Regions from separate parts of the Homo sapiens genome. Here region 1 is linked to region 2. Evidence: promoter capture Hi-C in 16 types of primary human blood cells and fetal thymus (Javierre and others, 2016). All regions are on one chromosome and are shown on one strand. The core of a region is centred on a gene start or on the middle of the fragment in contact, and the rest is flanking DNA. Distances in the headings are between cores, read along the strand shown.

Region 1 (5,939 bases), core at 1-2,500, 260 kb after region 2:
ATGGTGGAGGGGATGGCAGCTCCCAGGTGGCGATTCTCACCCCCCGAGTGTCCCTCCATCCTGCCCGTGCACTCCCAGCGGTAGCCCACACGGAGCGGGCAGGAACCACACGGGAGCCATATGTTAAATCACGTGACTTGTGGATAAATGGCTTCTGGCACATCTAATGAAGAGATAACGTCTGCGAAATAATTGTGGAAGGAACACGGTCCTCTCTGCTAATTCATGTCACCAGGCAAAAATCTGGGCTCCACGGATGGAAAAAGTTGGGCCTTTACAAGAGGAGCCTTTCCCTGCTCCCAGTTTCAAAAGAAAGCCCTGCAGGAGCGCAGCGAGGCCACAGCCTGATTCATGCCTAATCATTGATCTGGCAGCGACAGCTCCCTGCCATGTGACGCGGTGTCCAGGAGGCTCATCTGCACCGCATGGGTCCCTGCAGCCCGTGCACAGGTGCCTCTCAGGAGGAACCGCCCCGCCCTGCCCTGCGCCCCCCACCCAGGAAGCCAGGGCTCCCGGGGGATGTGCCCACGGCTCCCACAGCTTGTACCTCTTCACGCCCCCATGACTCAGGGCTCCCTGGCCTGAAACTGTTCTTAAATCGCACAGCTGGGCGCAACTGCTCTCCCCGAATCCAAACCTCAGCCGCGGAGTCACTCCCAGCAGCCAGGGGCCCGTGGCCTTCGACAGGGCACCCCCACCTGTGAGGAACTGCCAGGGCAAGGCCACGGCGCATCTGACCCTCCCCTGCTTTAACGACAATTCTGCCAACAGTCGAATTCAACAGTGGCTCTGAACAAAGAAAAGTGCATTAATTATGGCAGATGTGTGGAGTTCCGGGACCCCGGCCCCGCGCCCCCCGCCCCGGCCCGCCCCGGCCCGGCGCCCGCCCCGAAAAGTCGCGACGACTTTGAGAACCACTTTTGCCCCCCCGAGTGGCGGCCGCGCTCGCGCGCCCCGAAACTCAGGCTCGGCAGAAACCGAAAGCGGGCGCCGGGGCCACGCCACCCCCAACCCGGAGGCGGGTCCCGGGTCTCCGGGCGGCGGAGGCGGGTGTCGCGTGGGGACCCCGGGGGTGTCCCGGCCCGCGCCCCCGCTCACTTTTTCGTGCAGTCCAGCAGGATCCCCGCGAAGCTCCGCTCGCCGCAGCTCACCGTGACCACCAGCGCGCCGTTGACGACCTGCTCCACCCGCACCGGCAGCCGGCAGCCGGCGCGCGGCTCCATGCTCCCGCCGCGTCCCAGGCCGCCCCCGCCCCGCCGCCGCCGCCGCCGCCGCCGCCGCCGCCGGGTCAGCCCCGCGCGTGACGCCGCCCCGCGGCCGCCTGACGTCACAAAGCTCCGCTGGGGCGGCCGCCACAGCCGAGCCGAGCCGGGCCGGGGGCGCGCGGCCGCGGGCTCCGCTCCCGGGGACCCCGCCCGCCGCCGCCGCGTCCCGGGAGAAGCCGCGCCCGCCCGCAGAGGTCGGCCGGACGCGCGGTGCGGACCCCCGGGCTGGAGAGGGGGCTGCGCCCGGGCTCGCGGCCCACGCTGGCCGGGAGTGTCCCCTGGCTCGGGAGGACCCGAGAGCCACGAGCCCGGGGGCGGCGGGGGGGACACCCGCCGCGGCCGGAGCCCCGGGACCCCATCCCCCCGCTCCCCTGCCTGGGGCCGGTCCCGGGCCCCCCTCCCCCTCCGGGCCCAGCCCTGCGCCCTCCCTCCCTCCCCGGTGGCCCGGATCCTCCCGCCTGGGGTCGGCCGCCCGCGTGTCCCGGCAGCGCCCCGCGCTGGGCTCTGGTGGCCCCGGGCACTGCGGCGAGGAAGTCCCGGGCGGCGCGCGCAGGAAGCCGGGGCAGGCGGAGGGGACGCGGGGCGCCCGGGGGCAGCGGCCTAGTGTCGCCCTCGCCGCGTGGGGGGCGGGACACTGGGTCGCCCCACTGGGCTCGGCGCCTCTCGGGGCGACAAGCGGGCGCGCGCCCGGCTCAGGGCCACCCTGCGCGCCTGGGGGTGGCCGGCACCGGGGCCCGGGGGGTTAACTCCCTCCGGAGGTCTCGGGCGTGTCTCTTCGGGTTGCCGGGCCCAGGGGCCAGGCGCGCCTCCGCCAGTTTACAAAGGAAACAGCCTCCTTCCCCCGCGGCAGGGGCTCCCCGACCCGCGGGCGAGGAGTGGGAGGTGACGGCGCCGGACCCCCTTCCCCCAGGCGCCCGGCTCCCGCGCCTTCAGGCGTCAAAGCCCCCGACTTCCCCGAGCACCAGCACGTCCGCACCCGGCTCAGAACGCAGGGGCCCGGCCTGCTGCGGTGACCTTGGCCCCGGGCCGGGCTTCTGAGCCGGACTTGCAGCGCCTGACGAGGCCTGGAGGCGGGGCGGGGGACCGCGTAGTTGTCCTGGCGACCCAGCGCCGCCGGGCAGGGCTCCTCCCAGCCTGGGAATTGAGGACCACCGCCCCTGGTGCCACTGGGGACCGTCGGGTCGCTGGCGCCTGTCGACCTCGCCCTCCGGCGGCCGCGCGGCAGTGGGAGCCTCAGAGAGGAGCCAGGGCGGAGTGAGGGAGCCCGCGGGGCCTGGGACACCTGACCGTCCGGCTAGAACAGGGGTAGGGACCGAGGCCGAATGAGCCAGAGTTCTGGCCGGGGACAGTCCCAGAGGAGGCCTGGAAGCCCAGTGAGTGTCTGTCCTCCTCTGTGTGGCCTGGGGCTCCCGCCAACACTAAGCCCTTCCTGGGGCCTCAGGCACCTCAAGGCGCCCCGTTCTCCAGGGTCAGCCAGCCCCTGCCCACTGGTTGCCAGGCTTGCAGTGGAGCCTGCCTGCTGTCCTGCCCACAGGCCTCTGCAGCTGCCCCCTCCAGGGGTGGGGCTGACTTTGGAGGAAAAATGCCAGGCAGCAGGGACCCCCTCGCCACCCTGCTCCAGGTTGGGCTGAGCGGCCATCCTGAGGCTGCCCACTTGCTTGGCTCTTCTTCCTGCCTGCTGGAGAGGCCTGCTGGGCACTGCCCTTTCTGAGCATTGGGGACTGCCAGGGTGAATCAGCATTCAGGCTGGTGGGGCCAGCATGGGGTGGGGCTAATGCACAGGGGGCTGTATGTGGGTGGAGGGATCCAGAAAGAGTGTCCAGGGGAGCACCAGCATTCACCAGGGCCCCACCAGGTGGGCAAAAGCAAGGGCTTCCGAGGTGGGGGTGGGGGTGGGCAGGATCCTCTGCAAGGTGTCTGCGTGCGCCTGGGGCTCCTGGTGACTTCCCACGCCAGCAGGAGGAACAGTTTGGGGTGTGCTGAGGGACCCACCTGTGGACTTGCTGGGCTTTGAGAGGAACCAAGGCTGGGTGGCGGCGGGCAGGACAGGGGAAGAGGGTTCCGGGGCACAGAGGGCCAGACAGATGCACCCAGCAGCTGGCAGCTCTGGCTGGAGAGGGGAAGAGGGCAGTGAGAAGCACGGCTGGCCCATGGTACCTCCTGCCCCTCTGCCCTGCCCGCCTTCCCTCTGCCCTGCCCACCTTCCCTCTGCCCTGCCCGCCTTCCCTCTGCCTCTTCCCCTCTGGCCCGTGCTATTTACTGTGTATTGTTAAGTGAACTTGGAAGCCGTTTTTAAAACCTGCTCTCCACTAGGTAAGGTATAAAAAAGACCATCTGCAGACAGGGAGACCATTTTTGCAACTTAAACGGTGGCTGTTCAGGGCCTCCCCCAGCAGCCCTGCCCCCGCACCTGCTCCCACTTGCTTCCCGCCCCGCTCCAACCTGCTTGTTGAAGAAGAGGCCATGGGAGTTTCCAGAGTCCCCGATTAAAGTGCAGGTGTCCTTGGGGACCTCATCAGCCCAGGTATCCCCTCCTGTCTGACCCTGTATTCGGGGGTTGGGAGGCTGTCCTAGGCTTGCTGCTCTGAGCATCTCCCCAGAGGCCACCCTGCTCATGCCAGTCAGTGAGGTCTGCCCAGTTCTGGGAAGCACCCTGGGTACTGGGGCTGGTGCTGCCCACAGTGAGAGGACCCTGAGCTGCCTGGCTGGGCTGGAGAGGAGCCTCGGGAGTACGCCCCTGGCTGGGGTGAAAAGGCCAAGAGTGGGAAGAGACACCTCCGAGGTCTTTAGACTTTGTCTTCAAGAGACTTGATCCAAACAAAAGGTCCTAAAGCCTTTGGTCCTCTGGCTGTAGGCACAGCCGCAGCAAGGCCTAGGACATGCCCAGCTCGGGACGGCCCAGCCAGTCAGATGGGGTAAGCCAAGGGGACAGGAGAGTGTCCGGAACTTCCACCGGGGCTGGGGGTGGGTGACCAGCAGTTGGCAGGATGGGTGGCCTGAAGGGGTACAGTTGAGGGAGGGACAGGTGGCTGGAGGAGGAAGCAGGGGCTGGCCTCTATGTCCCCTGAGACAGCAGGGGAGGAAGGCAGGAACCCCGCAGGCCACCTCCCCTCAGGGTCTGCCTCCCCTGCGGTCCTTGGAGGAACTCCAGGATTTGTCCTCCCTGGCAGCCTGGCTCACTTGCATCACCAGCTCCATGCCCGCCCCTCGTCTTTCAGGGTCGCTCCCCCAGGTCCGAGCTTAGAGGGCCCTCCTGACTGCTGGACCTGGACCTGCCCAGCACTGTCCTACCGCACTACATCATCACTGAGACTTGGGAAGGGCAGTGGTGAGCAGGTTCTCAGCCTTTGTTGGTCTCTTCCACGAGATGAGGCTTACAGCGGCCTCCCCATGACTGAGGTGCAGCCACAGCCTGGCCTGTGTCCAGCCTGCTCCAGAATCACCTGGTATCCCCCCAACCCCCAACACACCTGGGCTTGCTTGATCTTACTGGAGCTCACCAGGGCCTGGCTGTGTGCAAGTCTCATGCAGCATAGTGAGGTGCTCCTGAGATGCATCGAAGGTGTCTGGTCAAGATGGAGGCCTCGCAGGACACAGCCATGAGTCAGAGACCACAGATTTCTCCAGAGCTGGTGCCCAGAGGCCAAAGGCAGGGATGGGCCTTGAGGCTGGGACCCAGGTCGCCTCATGGCAAGCCTTTTGCCCACAGCAGCTGTGGAAGGCAGGAGACAGGATAAAGCCTTTAATACAGAGGGCCTGCTCTGATTTCAGTAAGCAACCATTCATCACTCAAGAAGCCTGGACAGACTAGGGAGCAGGAGCACGCCAGGCCTCCTCCAAGGTGTCTGGCAGGGAGGCCGGCCTGGGGAACACACTCCTTGTCCCTTGTCGTGTCGTCTGAGGCAGGGGCTCAAGGCAATCTTTGCAGATGCTGAGCCAGGAACCCTCGACCTTCTAGCAGGCCACAGATCCTTTGGGCAGTGTTTGTTTTGTTCTGCTCCAGTCTGGAAGCCCTTGGAGGGCAGTGTGGGTCTACAAGGCCAACTTTGTCTTGTCTGTTCTGGAGCTGTCTCCCTGCCCCTTGGGTTATCAGGATGATATAGGGTCACATCCCCTGAGGCAGTATCTCAAAGGACCGGCTGGGAACAGAACCTGCCAAGACTCCACTCGAGGTGGTGCAGAGAGCTGGGCAGGCACATAAACTCTGAGGCCAAACTGCTAGAGTCCTGCCATGTGACCTTGGGGAGACTGCCACCTCCCTTGTGCCTCAGTGTCCTCATCTGTAAAGTGGGAAATATGATGGTACCTACCGTGTAGCCTCGTACTGAATATTAAATGAGTTAATATTAAATGAGATACTTAGTACAGCACAAGCCCCAGTAAAGCTTCCATGAGTTAGCTGCCATCACCATCATCAACACTTTTGTCATTATCAGCATCACCATCACCACCACAGTCTCCACCATCACCGCTACAGCCATCATCACCATGAGCATTACCATCCCACCTCCCCCATCACTACCACCACCATCACCATCACCATTGTCACCACCGTCACCATCATCACCATCACCATCACCATCATCACCACCATCACCATCATCACCATCACCATCATCACCATTACCACCACCCCCATCACCACTACCATCACCATCACCATTATCACATCAC
Region 2 (5,790 bases), core at 2,364-4,863:
CTGCGGCGTGCCGAGTTGCCTGAGTTGTGAGACACACAGTGGTGTGCACAGTCCGTTCGAGGGGCCAGCTGCTGATGGAAGTACTTCCCTTTTCCATTAAATCTGCAGTTTGACCCCTCACAAGCCATCCACCACAAGACTAGATTTTCCTTCTAGAGTGCTAAGGTACGTGTAAGTGGCACTGACAGAATTGCACCCATGTGACGTGTAACTGGATGAGTCCTGACACATCCACACGTGAAACCATCACCACAATTAGGAGACTAACATGCCCGTCGCTCCAGAAGGTTCCCTGGGTCCCTTCGCCCCTTGACACAATTTACACTTGGCTCTGGATTGTGTTTGCTAAACTACAGCATGAAAGGGTGGGAGCAGAGAGCGGCCAGGCTGGAGTGCGGGTGGGGTGGGCAGTGTGGAAGGGACAGCTGCCTTCCGTCCAGCATCCTCACCTCGGCCAAGGTGCGGGGATCTACCGTGCTCCCCTCCTGGGCTTGACCTGGCTTCTCCTTAGTGCTCACTGGAATCCCTCCAGCCCCCACCACAACCCCTTCCCCGGGAAACCACTATCTGTGTTCTGTCATTACAGACTTGTTTGCATTTTTAAGAATATGATATACATGAAATCATACAGAATGCATTTTTGGTTTGGTCTGGATTCTTTTGCCCACCATAATTACTGCGACAGCTGACACACCACGGTGTACACAGACTGTCCCCTCCTGTTCCCACTCACCTGCTGTGGCTATCTGGGCTGTTGACAGGTTTTGGCTATTCTGAATAAAGCTGCTATGAACATTCAGTCTTAGTGTGGAATGTGCTTTCATTTCTCTTAAGTAAATACTGAAGAGGGAAACGGCTGGGTGATACGGTGTGTGTATTTTCAACGTTTTTTTTAAGACCTCCATGTTTTCGCATGTTTTACATTTCCAGCACTAACACGACGGCTGCAGTGCTACCACCGCCTCCCCAGCGCTTGCCACGGTCGTCTTCATAGGTCCAACTGACTGGTTTCCTCTTATAGTGGTTTCTGCTTTTGGTGTCATATTTAAAGAAAGAAGTCCTGTGTGATCTTGTGGAAGCTGCATGGTTCTAGCTCTTACGCTAGGTCTATGATCCAGTTCAAGCTAAATTTTCATGTGGTTTCAAGTAACAATTGAAGTGAGTTTTTTGCAAACGGCCCTCTAATTGCTACAGCACCCTTTGTGGAAAAGATCATTCACTCACTGCTGAAGTCCACTGATACCTCTGACAAAGATCAATAGTGGGCCACTTTCTAGACTCTCCATAATGTTCTGTGATCTGTTTATCTGGTTTTATGCCAATACTATACTGATTTAATTATTGAGATTCAAAGAAGTCTTAATCAGGTAGTATAAGGACTCCATCTTTATTCATGTTCAAAGTTGTTTTGGCCCATTCTAATTCCTTTACATTTACATATACATTTTAGAACCAGCTTAATTTCTACCAAAAAAAAAAGTCTGCTCAGATTTTGATTAGTAATGCACTGAATCTTTACATCAATTTGGGGAGAAATGACATCTTAACAAGATTGAGTCTTCTGATCCATGAACATAGTATATCTCTCCATTTATTTAGATCTTATTTAATTTCTCTGAGCAATATATCATAGTTCTCAGTATACAGGTCTTACACATCTTGACCTAATTTATTCCTAAATATTTCATATTTTTGATGCTATTATAAATGGTAATGTTATTTACATTTCAATTTCCAACGGCATCATTTACAAGTTGACAGCTTACAAGCCACTAACTACATAAAGAGATTCTGAAGACATAATCAAAATATTTTTATGTTAGTAAGACCCTTCTGACTATTCATGAAAGCACTTCATTTTGCCTTTTTCTTCCTGAAGGAGGTATTGTCCTCATCACTTTCAATGTAGGCAATTCAGTAAAGTTGATCTCAAGCATCAAACAATTTACACATGGTGCTGGATTGTGTTTTTGAAACCATATCACGAAGAGGTGGGAGCATGCAGCTGGGGACACAGAGAGACCTGGCTGGATTGTGGGTGGGGGCATTGTGCAAGGGAGAGATGCAGGCCTCATTCCAGGACTGGCTATGCTCCATCCGGCATCCTCATCTTGGCCAAGGTGCAGGGATCTGGTTTTCCTCCCTCCTGGGTTTGACCCTACTTCTCTTTAGTGCTCAGTATGGGACACTGCCCTAGTTTTAGGCTTAAAGGAATCAGAGTCAAAAAAATAAATGTGCACCAATATGGATCACCACTTCTGGTCCTCTCTGTGCATTTACTTCAATAAGAATTTAAAAGGTAGATATCAGAGGACTCTACGTTTGAAACAACACACTTGTCCCTTCTCCATCTTCCCCCAGTTCTGACTGCCTCACCTCTCTCCCTGAACTCTGTAATGGTCCCCACTGACTACCTAATCACATTCAAATTTCTTTACCTGATACTCAAAGGACAGTCAAGATTCTAGGCTCTTCTCTCACCGTGAATGGCATCCAGACAGCCTCTGCTCAGACACCAGAGCCTCTGCTCAGACACCAGAGCCACTCCCACCTGTTGCTGACACAGGTGCCTCACCGCACCAGATCACAAACTGGCACACCACCTTCTTGTCAGTGCTACCTCCTCCTGCAGGTCTTGTTTGATGTCACCATCAACAGAAGGAGTCTCTTCCTCCTAAGAAGTTTCCTGGAATTTTGTTTTTTAAAAGCTAGTAACACACACACACACGAGTTCTGCAAGGCACACTATGAAAACAGTAGCTCCTGTCCACTTCAGTCTTCTAGTTCCCAGAGGCAATTATTTTCTTTTGATTGTTTTCTTTTGGTATTTATCTCCATACCTCTAAAGCTTATATTGCCACTTCTTGATTTTCCAGTTTTCAACATTGATTTTTCAATTTTTCCATGCTGGAAGAAGAGGATTTAACTACTTTCTACTATCTTTCCCCGTCACTCAATATCACACACACACTCCATCTCTCACCCCCACCCTCTCAATATTTTCACTTAAATCAATAATCAATATTTACATCATTATAATGTGCCGTGTGTCACGCATTGGCAGACGTCAGAACGTGCCGTGGGCCACGCGTCGGCGGAGCGCGGGAACGTGCCGTGGGTCACGCGTCGGCGGAGCATGAGAATGTGTTGTGTCACGTGTCATGTGCCATGTCACAGGGAGTATGCCGCGTGTCATGTGTTGTATGTCACATGTCATGTGTCAGGAGCTGCAGGCTGCATGTCCTCAGGTTTCTGGAGCCCAGCTGACAGCACTGGATCCTGTTGTGGGCATCTGGCTCTGTGATGAGGCACTGGCCTTCTCCATGCTCCACCTCCCAGGGCAGGCAGCCATGAAGCCGTGCAGACCTGACTCGGGACAGTGCTGGGGAGGAGGCCCTGGTGAGTGCCAGGCAAGGTTGCCGCCTGCCAAGTGGGTTGTTCTCCTGATCCGGCCCTTGCTGTGGGCCTGCGTGCAGAGGTCTCCTCTGCAGGGGACGGTGGGTGTGCATCAGCCACGGCGCTCAGCACAGAATACCCATGGCTGTGCAGCAGCTGGACCAGGGCATGTTGAATGAATGGACTGCCATGGGAGCTGCTCGCTGAGAAGGAACACTGGATAACCTGGGCACGGTCATCCTTCAAAAGCCTCAGCTTAGACAGCAGCGCCTCCAGACCCGCGTCCGTGGATGCACCCCACAGGGACCTCATGGCCAGCACTGCCCACCACTCCCGCCTCACCCAGAGCTAGGGAACCCTCTGCCCATGGTCCCATGGCTAGATGGCCAGGACCAGCCCCAGAGCTACGGGCCAATGGCAGCTCTCCATCTTTCCAGTTCTGGACCCTTCCAAGGCTGCTCTCAGCAAGGTGCCTTTCTCAGTGCTCCAGCTCCTGACAGGACTTCCTGCTTCCTCAGCCCCAGGCCTCAATCTGAACCCCTGTGCCTCTGAGTCTGCCTGACACCTACAGGAGCACAGACAGGTCTCCCCGGAAGTTTGGAGAACACTGGCGTGGGGAGTGGCACCTGCAGAGCTGGGGACCCACCTAGGCATCTTCGCCTCCTGGGCTGCTCATCCCCAGGGCCCAGGTCGGTAGCCTTGGTGGCTGGCAGCTTCCACTGTGGACGGCAGCTGACTCCAGGTGATGGCAGAAGGAGCTTCCCAGGCAGCCTGTTGAGCACCCACGAGGAAGCGCAGATGCTGGCGGCACCTATCTTTTCAAACTGCCCCAGGCCCGACGCCTTCCACTCTCCTGCCGGGTGCATGGAGCCACCGGGAGCAGCCGGCGGCCTTGGTGGTCTTGGCAGTCTCGGCGGTCTTGGTGGCTTTGGCGGTCTCAGCAGTCTCGGTGGTCTTGGTGGCCTTTCGAAAGGAAAGCTTCTCAAGAGACATACAACCCAGCCTCCTTGGAGCCCAGAGGGCCTAGAGCATCCGTGCCCAGAGACCACCCAGCTGCGGGCAGCTTGCAGACACCCGGGCACCCATGAGCACCCCCGGGGGGCCGGCGGACTCAGCCCTGTGTGTAAACAGATCGACACGCGTCAAGGCTGCATCCAAGGCCCGGCCTGCAGCCAGGAAACACCCGTCTGCTCAGAACGCACGGAGCCGACCATGAAATTAACCTCATGGCAATTGTTTTCCCACCCGTTTGATAGCCCAATGTCAGCTCATCTGTTAGAAGGAAATAAAAGAGTCAAGCCTAAATGTACAAAAAATTATGATGGAAGGTCCTAAATAAAGCAGGCTTATGGAGTCAAACATCAATCCATCAATAAGGGAGTGGATTAGGAGCACCTCATAAGCCCCAAAGAAATAATGTGCCCAAACACTGGGATTTCACAGTGGAGGACCAAATTCCAACACTTTTAGGAAGTAAATAATGAAAAATCAATTCAAAGAAAAAACAGATCAAGAACCCTGGACTCTGACACATTTATTGCTGAATACCATTTCTCGGCTGACCCAAAAACTTCGGAAGGTGTTTATTTACTTTCAACACCTTCCAGAGATCAATATTTTTAATTTGGATCCGAGTTATTATTTTTCACATCACAGCAGCGGGGAGCGGAGTAAAGTGGCTCATATTTTAGTGCTAAAAAGATCGATATGACAGTTTCACCTTCACTGCAGCCCCAGCCGCACATCATCGCGTCCCACGGGACTGCAGGTGCTGGGGCCGGGGAGCAGGTCATTACCTGCCCGCTGAGGAGACAGCCCGTGATTTAGGGGAGCATGAAGGGCCCGGTGCCCTCAGAAAACCAATCTCGCCCCCTCTCACTTCATCAGGACTGTCTTGCCCCCAGGCAGGTGAGGAGGCAGCGAGCCCCAGGGCAGGGCTGGAGCCCTAAGGCAGATGAGCTTCCTCATCATAAACGCGTTTGCCTTTCCTTCCCCTTCTCTGGATCAAAGAACATCCGTAAACTCCATCAATTTTCCATAAATTCTCCCTAAAGTCTTATTTAGGAGAACGAGAGTGGAAGGGGGAGCTCACAGAGGAGGAGGAGGGAAAGCAGAAGGGCCTCTCCCAGGAAGCAGCGGGCCTCTCATTCCTGGGCCACCGCTGGGTACTGGGGCCCCCCACCCCAAGAGCACCAGGGCCACTGCCTGGGGGCCATGCCGAGAGCCTGCCTCTTACAGACTACAGAGCTGGGGGTGGGGGCTGTGAGCTGCCGTGCACAGCACTTGCAAAGGGCATCTGTGCCCCACTTCACTCTCCACAGACCCAGCCGCGGGGGAGGCAGACCCTGCTCTGCAGGAGGCCAGAGCCCCTGGAAAAGCCTAGAAGCCACCAAG

The links. Contacts are between HindIII fragments. The CHiCAGO score rates a contact against its expected background, and 5 or more counts as called.
Region 1: the fragment with the promoter of PWWP2B here is called in contact with a fragment that was not itself captured in region 2 in 6 of 17 cell types (total B cells, M0 macrophages, naive CD4 T cells and 3 more); the score reaches 7.7 in total B cells.

The regions. Positions count from the first base shown.
Region 1 is chr10:132,392,511-132,398,449 of GRCh38, reverse strand. It overlaps PWWP2B (PWWP domain containing 2B), which reads right to left and starts at 1,250. Exons shown (of 3, transcript NM_138499.4): 1 at 1,099-1,250. The coding sequence starts at 1,223. It overlaps LOC124902526 (a long non-coding RNA gene), which reads left to right and starts at 1,894. Exons shown (of 2, transcript XR_007062342.1): 1 at 1,894-3,789; 2 at 4,120-5,635. RefSeq lists enhancers at 1-192, 193-715, 2,286-2,808, 2,809-3,332 and silencers at 978-1,117, 1,128-1,237, 1,648-2,077, 2,098-2,477. The HindIII fragment of the contact is 15,859 bases long and covers 1-5,652 here.
Region 2 is chr10:132,657,347-132,663,136 of GRCh38, reverse strand. The region is part of intron 4 of INPP5A (inositol polyphosphate-5-phosphatase A); the gene reads right to left. Among named protein-coding and RNA genes, the nearest start is that of INPP5A, 120 kb to the right of the region's middle. The HindIII fragment of the contact is 1,526 bases long and covers 2,851-4,376 here.